Regions from separate parts of the Homo sapiens genome. Here region 2 is linked to region 1. Evidence: promoter capture Hi-C in 16 types of primary human blood cells and fetal thymus (Javierre and others, 2016). All regions are on one chromosome and are shown on one strand. The core of a region is centred on a gene start or on the middle of the fragment in contact, and the rest is flanking DNA. Distances in the headings are between cores, read along the strand shown. Region 1 holds the start of ZP1 (zona pellucida glycoprotein 1). Region 2 overlaps MS4A15 (membrane spanning 4-domains A15).

Region 1 (5,282 bases), core at 1,058-3,557:
AGCTTTAATCACAGTAGAAGTGAATTATTGCCAAGCATTAAATCATTACTGCACCTGGTACCCATGACTTGTCTCTTTGTGTCTTCCTATCCACCATGTGGGCAAGGAAAGCATTATCACCCCCAGTTTACAAACAGGAAACCTGAGGCTCAGAATAGATAATGCATCTGAGTCACAGCTAAGAAAGTGGTTGGGGCACCATTAGAACCAACTTTTTTTGTTTAAACTTTTATTTTAGGTTCAGGGTTACTTATGCAGGTTTGTTATATAGGTAAATGCATGTCCAGAGGGATTGTTGTACAGATTATTTCATCACCCAGATACTAAGCCTAGCACCCAATAGTTATTATTTCCACCCTTCTCCTTCCTCTTACCCTCTACCCTTCAATAGGCCCCAGTGTGTGCCATTCCCCTCTATGTGTCCATATGTTGTCATCATTTAGCCTTCAGTTATAAGTGAGAACATGTGGTATTGGTTTCTGTTCCTGCATTTGTTTGCTAAGGATAATATCCTCCAGCTCCATCCATGTTCTTGCAAGAGATGTGATCTCATTCTTTTTTATGGCTGCATAGTATTCCATGGTGTATGTGTACCACATTTTCCTTTTTTTTTTTTCTTTTTCTTTTTTTTTTTTTTTTTTTGAGACAGAGTCTCACTCTGTCGGCCAGGCTGGAGTGCAACAGCACAATCTCGGCTCACTGCAACCTCCGTCTCCTGGGTTCAAGCGATTCTCCTGCCTCAGCCTCCTGAGTAGCTGGGACTACAGGTGCGTGCCACCACACCCAGCTAATTTTTGTATTTTTAGTAGAGACAGGGTTTCACCATGTTAGCCAGGATGGTCTCGATCTCCTGACCTCGTGATCCGCCCGCCTCGGCCTCCCAAAGTGCTGGGATTACAGGCGTGAGCCACCGTGCTCAGCATGTACCAGATTTTCTTTATTGAGTCTACCATTGATGGGCATTTGATTCCATGTCTTGGCTATTGTGAATCATGCTGCACTGAACATATGCACGCAGGTTCAGTGTCTTTATGATAGAACAATTTATATTCCTTTGGATATATACCCAGTAATGCGATTTCTGCATCAAATGATAGTTCTGTTTTCAGCTCTTTGAGGAATCACCACACTCCCACAGTGGTCAAACCAATTTACACCCCCACCAAGAGCGTATAAGCATTCCTTTTTCTCTGCAACCTCACCAGAACCGGGCTCTTAGCTATCAAGCCTCTTGCTCTCCCCTTCCAGCAGCTGCTAATTATAATAGCTGCATTTTCTAATGTTTGCTGAGCTCAAACGCTGCTGGGCCCTAGGCTAATCACTTGCAGGAATTAGTGCCAGGACGTGGGGCTGGTGACAGTCCCTTCCTCAGAGGATGGTCAGGCGGTATAAGGATCTAACACAAGCAAGACCTGGCACTGTAATCATGGCAGACCACAGGCCATTCTTGTTGTTTCCAGCCACTTTTATGTCTTAGAACTGTTCTAGATTTACAGAACTGAGAAGATAGTACAGACAGTTCCCATACACCGCAGGCCCAGTTTACCCCATAACTGATCTTACTTGAGTATGATACATTTATTACAATTAATGAACAAACAAATGTGGACACATTATTATTAACTAAAATCCACTTTCTTCACTTTTACTGCCTTTTTCTGTTCCACGATCCCATCCAGATGCCACATTACATTTAGTTGTCCTTGTTATTTTTTATTAGTCATAGTCATCATCATACTGACCGGCTGAATCCTCAGGAGAGCCCTTGGAGGTGCTACTGGTCTGTTTACTCACCTGCAGTCCCCATTCCGCTGCCAGCTCTGAGGGCTGTGTCTTCCTGGTCTTGCTCTAATGCCCCTAAAGCCCTGCCTGAGGAGCTGTGACTGTACTAACCAGGCCGGCAGCTCCCAGTGGTCCTGAGGCCTCAAGGCAGGAAGGAGGACCTGGAGAGCCTGTTGGGGCAGGAAGGGAATGCAGAAAGGCTGGGGTGAGAGGGAGACAGTGGAGGGCCTGAGGTCTGCAGTGCCACCTCCTAGCCCTGGATCCCTTCCCACAGCCCATCTGCAACCTCAGTTTTCTGGAAAGCTCCCTCCTCCCTTCCAAAGCCACAGCTGTGAGACAGAAAGCCAGGGTGAGGGGCCACGTGCAGCTTTCTGCCTCCCGCTGCCTTTGGAACAGGAGTTTCACCACAGCCCCTGGTGGCCAGGTGGGTGCTCCTCCAGGTGGGCCCCCTTTGCCCTTACAGGCACCCACTTGCCACCTCCTCCATAAAAGGCCTGGGCCCAGCTCTGGTGGCGAGGGAGTAGGGGGTGTGTCTGTGGCGTCTCATGGCAGGAGGCTCAGCCACGACCTGGGGTTACCCTGTGGCCCTGCTACTGCTGGTTGCCACCCTGGGGCTGGGTAGGTGGCTCCAGCCCGACCCTGGCCTCCCAGGCCTCCGGCACAGCTACGACTGTGGGATCAAGGGAATGCAGCTGCTGGTGTTCCCCAGGCCAGGCCAGACTCTCCGCTTCAAGGTGGTGGGTGAGTGCTGGCAGAGTCCTGGCCCCTGCCTCCCTGGCCACGGGCTGCTGCCAGAAGGGAGCTGGGACCCTTCCCCTGAAGGAGCAAGAACAGAGGCCTCCCTCCAGCCTGGGGGTGTCCAGCCCCCCACCCCCTCACCACAGAAAAGGGCAAGGAGGAGAATCATCACCCAGGGCAGCTTCTCCCACGTTAGTGTGCATGGGAAACACCTGGCCACCTTGTTGAGGTGCAGGTTCTGATTCAGTGGACCTGGGGCAGGGCCAAGCCTCTGCATTTCTTTTCTTTTTTTTTTTTTTTTCTGAGACAGTCTCACTTCTTTCAATCTGTTCTCCAGGCTTGAGTGCAGTTGGCACGATCTCAGCTCACTGCAACCTCCACCACCCAGGTTCAAGCAATTCTCCTGCCTCAGCCTCTTAGTAGCTGGGACTACAGGTGTGTGCCACCACGCCCAGCTACTTTTTGTATTTTTAGTAGAGATGGAGTTTCACGATATTGGTCAGGCTGGTCTCGAACTCCTGACCTCAGGTGATCCACCTGCCTCAGCCTCCCAAAGTGCTGGGGTTATAGGCGTGAGCCACTGCACCCAGCCTAGGCTCTGCATCTCTAACCACGCTCAGTCAAAACTGAGGCTGAGGGTCCATAAACCACTTCCAGCAGCAGGACCTAGTAGGCGTGGCCTGGTGTGGGTTTAGAACTGGGGTTTGGATCTGCAGCTTCTAAACGGGATGATTTTGGACAACTGACCTGACTCATAAGCCTCTGTTTCCTCATCTGCAAGGTGGGGAAGATGAACCTGGCCGTGCTCATGGAACAAGGGCATGGGGACATGCCCACACCCAGGGAATGCCCAGGCTGTTCTGGGGCAACAAGCAGGGTGGACACCTAGGGGGTGTCTCCAAGCAACTGCAGCAGCCACAGTTAACCTGGGAAATGGGTTCAGATCTTTCTACAAAGCCCAGGATTCAAATCCTCATTCTGCCCCTCATTGTGTGCACCTAAGAAAGCTCACGCACCCTCCCTTCCTCAGCTGCCTCAGCCACAGGATGTGGATAACTAAGCTTAAAAGAAGTGATGTGAAATACTCAGGCCAGTGCCTGAGACCCTGTGTATCCCTTCTCCACCTCATCTTCGTGCCTGCCTGCTGCCGTGTGCTGTGAGCAGGGAACCCTAGCTAGAAAGATCCTAAGACCCTCCCATCCCCTTACAGCTGTGGAAACTGAGAGCAGAGAGGGGAGGGGGCTTGCCCAAGACCACACAACAAACTAATAGCAAAGCTAAGGCAAGAACCCAGGTCTCCTGGCTGCTGAGTGGGAACTCCTTCCGAGACCCCAGCAACCTCTCCCTGCACCCTTCAACATCCCTGGCCCCTCCCCTTCCCCCACTGCAGATGAATTTGGGAACCGATTTGATGTCAACAACTGCTCCATCTGCTACCACTGGGTCACCTCCAGGCCGCAGGAGCCTGCAGTCTTCTCGGCCGATTACAGAGGCTGCCACGTGCTGGAGAAGGTAGGGGTTGTTCATGCTCTGGCACAGGGGCAAGCTTGTCCTAGTGTCATGTCAGGCTGAAGAGGCCCCTCATGAACCAGAAAGGAGCCAAAGCCGAAGATCTGTTGAGCTGGTGGGTGAGGGAAACTAAGCTCTGGAAGGTACTTTCTGGAATCCACCATGAATCCAGCTCCCTGCCTAATGGCCAGCTCAGCTCTCGTGGGCCCGTCCCCTGCCTGGGTATGCTAGGTGGCCTCACCTTGCTGCTCTATGATGGCCTCTCACCTGCAGGATGGGCGTTTCCACCTGAGGGTGTTCATGGAGGCTGTGCTGCCCAATGGTCGTGTGGATGTGGCACAAGACGCTACTCTGATCTGTCCCAAACCTGACCCCTCCCGGACTCTGGACTCCCAGCTGGCACCACCCGCCATGTTCTCTGTCTCAACCCCACAAACCCTTTCCTTCCTCCCCACCTCTGGCCATACCTCCCAAGGCTCTGGCCATGCCTTTCCCAGCCCACTGGACCCAGGGCACAGCTCTGTCCACCCAACCCCTGCTTTACCATCCCCTGGACCTGGACCTACCCTCGCCACCCTGGCTCAACCCCACTGGGGCACCTTGGAACACTGGGATGTGAACAAACGAGATTACATAGGTACGCAGGACATCTGAGTGTACTTACCCTCTGTCTGGGGACTTCTGGAGTACAGGGTGGCCTAACAGCCTTTTACTGGGCTCTAAGCCATTTCTTTTTTTGTTTTTTTCTTTTTTTAGAAAAAGATGATTCTTTTATTCCTTTGTAGTATTTGGAAAACAGCTTTAAACATGTATAGGTGTACTAAAGCTAGAAGAGGTCTTGTAAATTTGTTTCCTAACTTTAGGCAGAAACTCATTGAAACCATTGCCAGCAACACCTGATTCTCAGAAAATATTCTCTAGAAATTTCAGTAATATTCAGTTTTGAGGGAGGACATTTACTGTGCTGGCTAAGAGCACAAGCTCTGGAGCAGGTTCCCAAGATTCAATTCCAGGGCCATGATTTGCAAACTGTGTGCCTTCAGCCTCATCACTCTGTCCCAACCCTAGGTACCCACCTGAGCCAGGAGCAGTGCCAGGTGGCCTCAGGGCACCTCCCCTGCATCGTGAGAAGAACTTCAAAAGAAGCCTGTCAGCAGGCTGGCTGCTGCTATGACAACACCAGAGAGGTTCCCTGTTACTATGGCAACACAGGTACAACCTCCCACCCCAGCAAGATCCTGGTCCCTTGGATT
Region 2 (4,796 bases), core at 167-2,666, 92 kb before region 1:
GGGTGACAGAGGAAGGCTGTCTCTAAAACCAAAACAAAACCAAAGACGTCTTCGCAGGTCAGTGAAGACAGGACTGCTCTCCCCGTGGCACTGGGTGCACCAGCACCCACAGGGCCACTGCTCTGTGCAGCCCCACAGGCAGCCTTGCAGAATAGAAGGCCCAGGCTCAGGGCATGGGGGCAGTGCTGCACCCAGAGGAGTGAGACTTTTTGGAGTTCCCAGGCCACATGGGAGACAGGGGCATCAGGGAGGGCAGCATGATAGAGATGGAAATTAAGCTTTGATTTCCAAAAAAAATGGAGGACAGTGATGACAGAAAGGGGCTGGAGGGAGTGTTCAAGGCAGGGGAACCAGTTGGAGCAAAGGCTGCCTCGGGCAGGCAAATGCAGGCCACAGGGTGGGGTGCCCTTGGCAGGTGCACGATGGGATGCATTGAGGGTGAGGGGATTGAAGGTCTGAGCAGGGGAGTGAGCTGGTTGAGGGAAATCAGTCAAGAGGATTTGTCCAGTGCCGGAAGGTGGAGAGGGTGGACAAGCGGGGCTCGAGGCCAGGAAGCTGCAAGGAGGCTGGTGCCACGGTGCAGGCAAGAGAGAGCGAAGTCCTGAACCAGGCCAGGGCAGTCGGGAGAGAAAGAACAGCAGAGCCGGACGTGGTGGCTCATGCCTGTAACCCCGGCACTTTGGGAGGCCGAGGCGGGCAGATCATCTGAGGTCAGGAGTTCAAGACCAGCCTGGCCAACATGATGAAACCCCGTCTCTACTAAAAATACAAAAAATTACCTGGGCATGGTGGCAGGCGCCTATAATCCCAGCTACTCGGGAGGCTGAGGCAGGAGAATAGCTTGAACCCAAGAGGCGGAGGTTGCAGTGAGCCGAGATCACGCCATTGCACTCCAGCCTGGGCAACAAGAGCAAAACTCTGTCTCAAAAAAAAAAAGAAAAGAAAAAAAAGAACAGCAGAACGTTAGCGCCTGGAGAAATGGGACTTTTGTCTGTTTTGTTCACTGCTGTACTCCCAATGCCTGGATCATAGCTGGCCCCAGTAAATGTTGTTTGAAATATTGGTTGCACGGAGAGCCCTGAGCATGCGATTCAGACTTGCGGAATTCAGTACCAGGGCGCTGTTCTCAGATTACCCACAAGGGGGCACTATTGAACCACTACCCTGAAGCTCCAGCGTCCTCCAGGACGCTCAGTGCTGTTTTCTTTGCAGCCTGTGATCTTCCTGCCAAACGCCTTCAGCGCAGACTTCAACATCCCCAGCCCGGCAGCCTCTGCGCCCCCTGCCTATGACAATGTGGCATATGCCCAAGGAGTCGTCTGAGTAGCAGATGTGGCACCTGCGGGTGGAGTCCAGCCTTTTCCCTCTGGGCCCAGCCTCTCCCCACCCCCACCTTGTTCATCAGGGGCCAGCCCCATCCCAGCTGCCCTCCCTCACCACATCTACACATACTCCGGCATCTGAGTGAAGTGTCCCCAGGGACATCTCTCCCACACTTTCCCCAGTGCTTTCTTTCTAAAAGACACCGGGCTGACGTCAGGGGTGTGTGTCCTTCAGCTCCCTGAGCCCTGTCACCCTTCCAGGACACCCACCTTGTGCATCTAAGCATTTCTCTGCTCATTGGGGAAATCCTGGCCTCATTGGAGACTCAGGTTCGAGGCCTGCCCTGACCCTCGGGCCTCGGGAAGGTCAGAGAGCCCGGAATCCTCCAGAATGGAAGAGTCTGACTCTGGCATTCCACAGAGGTGCCGATACCAGGCCAAGGCCTCACAGCAGGGTAGTGGCCTGGCCGCAGGTCTCCTGGCCCCAAGATCAGCTCTGTCCTTTGTCATCTGTTGCCACATCCATGGAACTCAGGTTTCCTATTTGGAAACTAGAGTGTTGAACCAGATAAGGTTCATCAGGCCCTTCCAGCTCCCCAGGCTCCCTGAAGTCCTGGGTCTAGGCCAGGCATTGTCCCCCTGCTTCCTGGAAACCCTCATTTTCCTTGTCTGTAATATGAAGTCAGCATTGGCCCCGCCCCCCACCCCCTACCATCTCCCAATGGAGGGGAGGTTGCAGGGGAGAGCTGCCGCCAGCCCACTCCTGAGGCACCACCACAGTCAGCATCGACAGGGGCACAGCAGTGGCAGTTTGGGACCTCCCTGTGCCTCTCAGCACTCCCTTCCCCACCCCCATAGCCCAAGGACAAGGCTACCACAGAAGGTTACCACAGGACCTGGGCTTCGTCTCCAGGGGACAAGGAGACACTGTCAGCCTGGTGTTCACCAGGCCTGGTAGATGAGATGGCTTGTCTCATCCACACCACAGAAGGAAATAAACCATGTGGCTTAAATTTTGAGCTGGTCTTGTTGCAATGACTTTTTCTTTTTAACCTCAGGGGCTTCCAAGGGTCATCCCATGTTTATCAGAGGACCTGGGTAACTATCCCACTGTCACAAAAGGGCACCTCTGGGTGCCTCGCTCTGTGTGGTGTAATCCTTACACTTACTCTGTCCCCATCTCGGTTCAAACAAACATGCCTTCATATCCCCACTCCACAACTAAGGACACTGAAGCTTAAAGGTGTTAAATTATATGCCCAAGGCCACCGAGCTAGTTAGGAGCAAAACTGGGATCCAAACCTAGTTCCATGTGACGTCAGAGTCCGTGTTCTCACCACTTGGTCTCCCCTTAGTACAAACCTAAGTGCTTCCCACCAACCCCTTTTCCTCCTTCCTTCTGTTTCTTCATCCCCAAAACTAAGGCAGGGCTGCATTCCTCAACACACTCACTTCTTCTTCACCCAACAAACTCCCCCTCCTCCTTTAAGGCCCTATTTAAACGTTGCCCCTTCTGTGAAGTCTTCCCAAAGGAAGGGTGGTCCACGTGGTAGCTAAGTGCCGTGACCACAACACTGGAATGAGGGTGGGGCAAGGGAGGTGCCATTCAAGGGGACATTCACTCTCAGGATCATGCCAGTGCAGAGTTGGTGTAAGGGGTACAACAAGCTTTGGCTTTTACAATCAAGAAAGGAGACTCGAGGATTTAGAGCTTTCAGTTTAAGATCATTAAGTATAGAGTTGGAGGAAATGTACTTGAAGATTTAGGACCAGTTTTCTTGCCATATAAAGGAGACTAGAGACATTTCAGAACTGAGGGGAGGAGTTGGGGGAGAGAGAGGGAGAAAAAGAGAGAGGTTAGCCCCAAGCTGGGATTGCTTCCCTCTCTCCTCTGCTGACCAAATCCCTCAGGAAGTGTGTAGGCCAAAAACCACAGGTCCATTAAGAGGAATTAGAGACTACAAGGTCACTAGAGATGTCCCATATTCAGACAGCATGGAGCCACAACATAAAGATGGCTGGGGACTGTGCCTGGTGACACAATAGTCCTGCATTCCCATGTAGTGTATCAGTCCAAGCGTGAGAAAGCTCTCTGTGTTTCCTGAGCTGGCCAGTGGCCAGATGTGCAATGTGGATTACGTGAGACTATAACTTTATAACAAATATGAGCAGCAAATAAGAGTGGGGACAGTGGCCACCACTGAGAGAACAGCAAGGACAAACTATACCTCAGCAGAGGCTAGCAAGGACAGATGAGGGCTAAGGGCTTATGGACTGGAAGTCATTGGAAGTGACTGAGTTATCCTCAATTGGCAAAATTAAGTTTTCTACCACTACTGAGAGTAAATGGGAGGTAGAGATATAATTTCTGTGAAAAAGAACGCTGAGAACTACAAAATGTTACTAAGAGAAATTAACAAAGATCTAAGTCAATGAAATGATATCCTATGTTCATGAACTGAGAAGCTCAAGTTTGTTAAAATGGCATTGATTTTCAAAATTTATCTATAAATTCAATATGATTCCATTCAAAATTTTAGCAGTTTATTTTGGGGAAATTGACAAGTCAATTCTAAAATTCATATGGAAATTCAAAGGATCTTTAAAAATACAAGAAAACTTAAAGACAAAGTTGGAGGATTTAAACAACCTGATTTCAAGATTTACTACTTAGCAATAATTTAGACAGCATAGTTTTAGCCCAAAAATAGACAAAAAGACCAATGGAATAAAATAGAGAGCTCAGAAACAGACCCTCACATACAGTCCTTTGATCTATGGCAAAGACACCCATAATTAAGTGGATAAATGACGTTCTTTTTAATCAATGGTGCTGAAGCAATTAGATATTGGCATAGAAAAAAATGCACCTTAATTCCTACCTCACACCGTACATAAAAATTAATTCAGGATGAGTCACAGATCTAAATTTTATAACAAAGCAAGCTTCTAAGAGAAAACATAGGAAAATATTATTTGGGGATAAGCAAAGATTTACTAAACTAGAAATGCAAAAAACACTAACCACAAAAGACATAAAAACCATAAAAGAAATTGGAGTTTATTAAAAATTAAGAGCTCTGTTTATCAAAAATCACATTGTAAGTGTGAAAATGCAAAACATATACTGGGAGAGAATTTTGAAATGCATCATATCTGACACAGGTCTCATGTGCAGAACATATAAATAACTCCTAAAAATAATAAGTAGGCCAGGTGCACTGGCTCATCATGCCTGTAATCCCAGCACTTTGAGAGGCCAAGGTGGCTGGATCGCCTGAGGTCAGGAGTTCAAGACCAGCCTAGCCAACATGGTGAAACCTCGTCTCTATTGAAAATACAAAAATTAGCTGGGCATGGTGGCATGTGCCTGTAATCCCAACTACCTGGGAGGCTGAGGCAAGAGAATCACTTGAACCTGGGGGGCAGAGGTTGTAGTGAACTGAGATTGTGCCACTGTGCTCCATCCTGGAC

Evidence for each region. The method cuts DNA at HindIII sites, captures the fragments that hold promoters and counts their contacts. A CHiCAGO score of 5 or more calls a contact.
Region 2: a fragment that was not itself captured here is called in contact with the fragment with the promoter of ZP1 in region 1 in 1 of 17 cell types (endothelial precursors); the score reaches 6.5 in endothelial precursors.

Annotation. Positions count from the first base shown.
Region 1 is chr11:60,865,235-60,870,516 of GRCh38, forward strand. ZP1 (zona pellucida glycoprotein 1) reads left to right here and starts at 2,308. Exons shown (of 12, transcript NM_207341.4): 1 at 2,308-2,523; 2 at 3,911-4,032; 3 at 4,303-4,666; 4 at 5,098-5,241. The coding sequence starts at 2,328. The HindIII fragment of the contact is 3,593 bases long and covers 1-3,579 here.
Region 2 is chr11:60,774,393-60,779,188 of GRCh38, forward strand. MS4A15 (membrane spanning 4-domains A15) reads left to right here. Exons shown (of 7, transcript NM_001098835.2): 7 at 1,213-2,341. The coding sequence ends at 1,323. Among named protein-coding and RNA genes, the nearest start is that of MS4A10, 8.5 kb to the right of the region's middle. RefSeq lists enhancers at 48-679, 680-1,309, 1,310-1,939 and a silencer at 1,046-1,165. The HindIII fragment of the contact is 2,280 bases long and covers 277-2,556 here.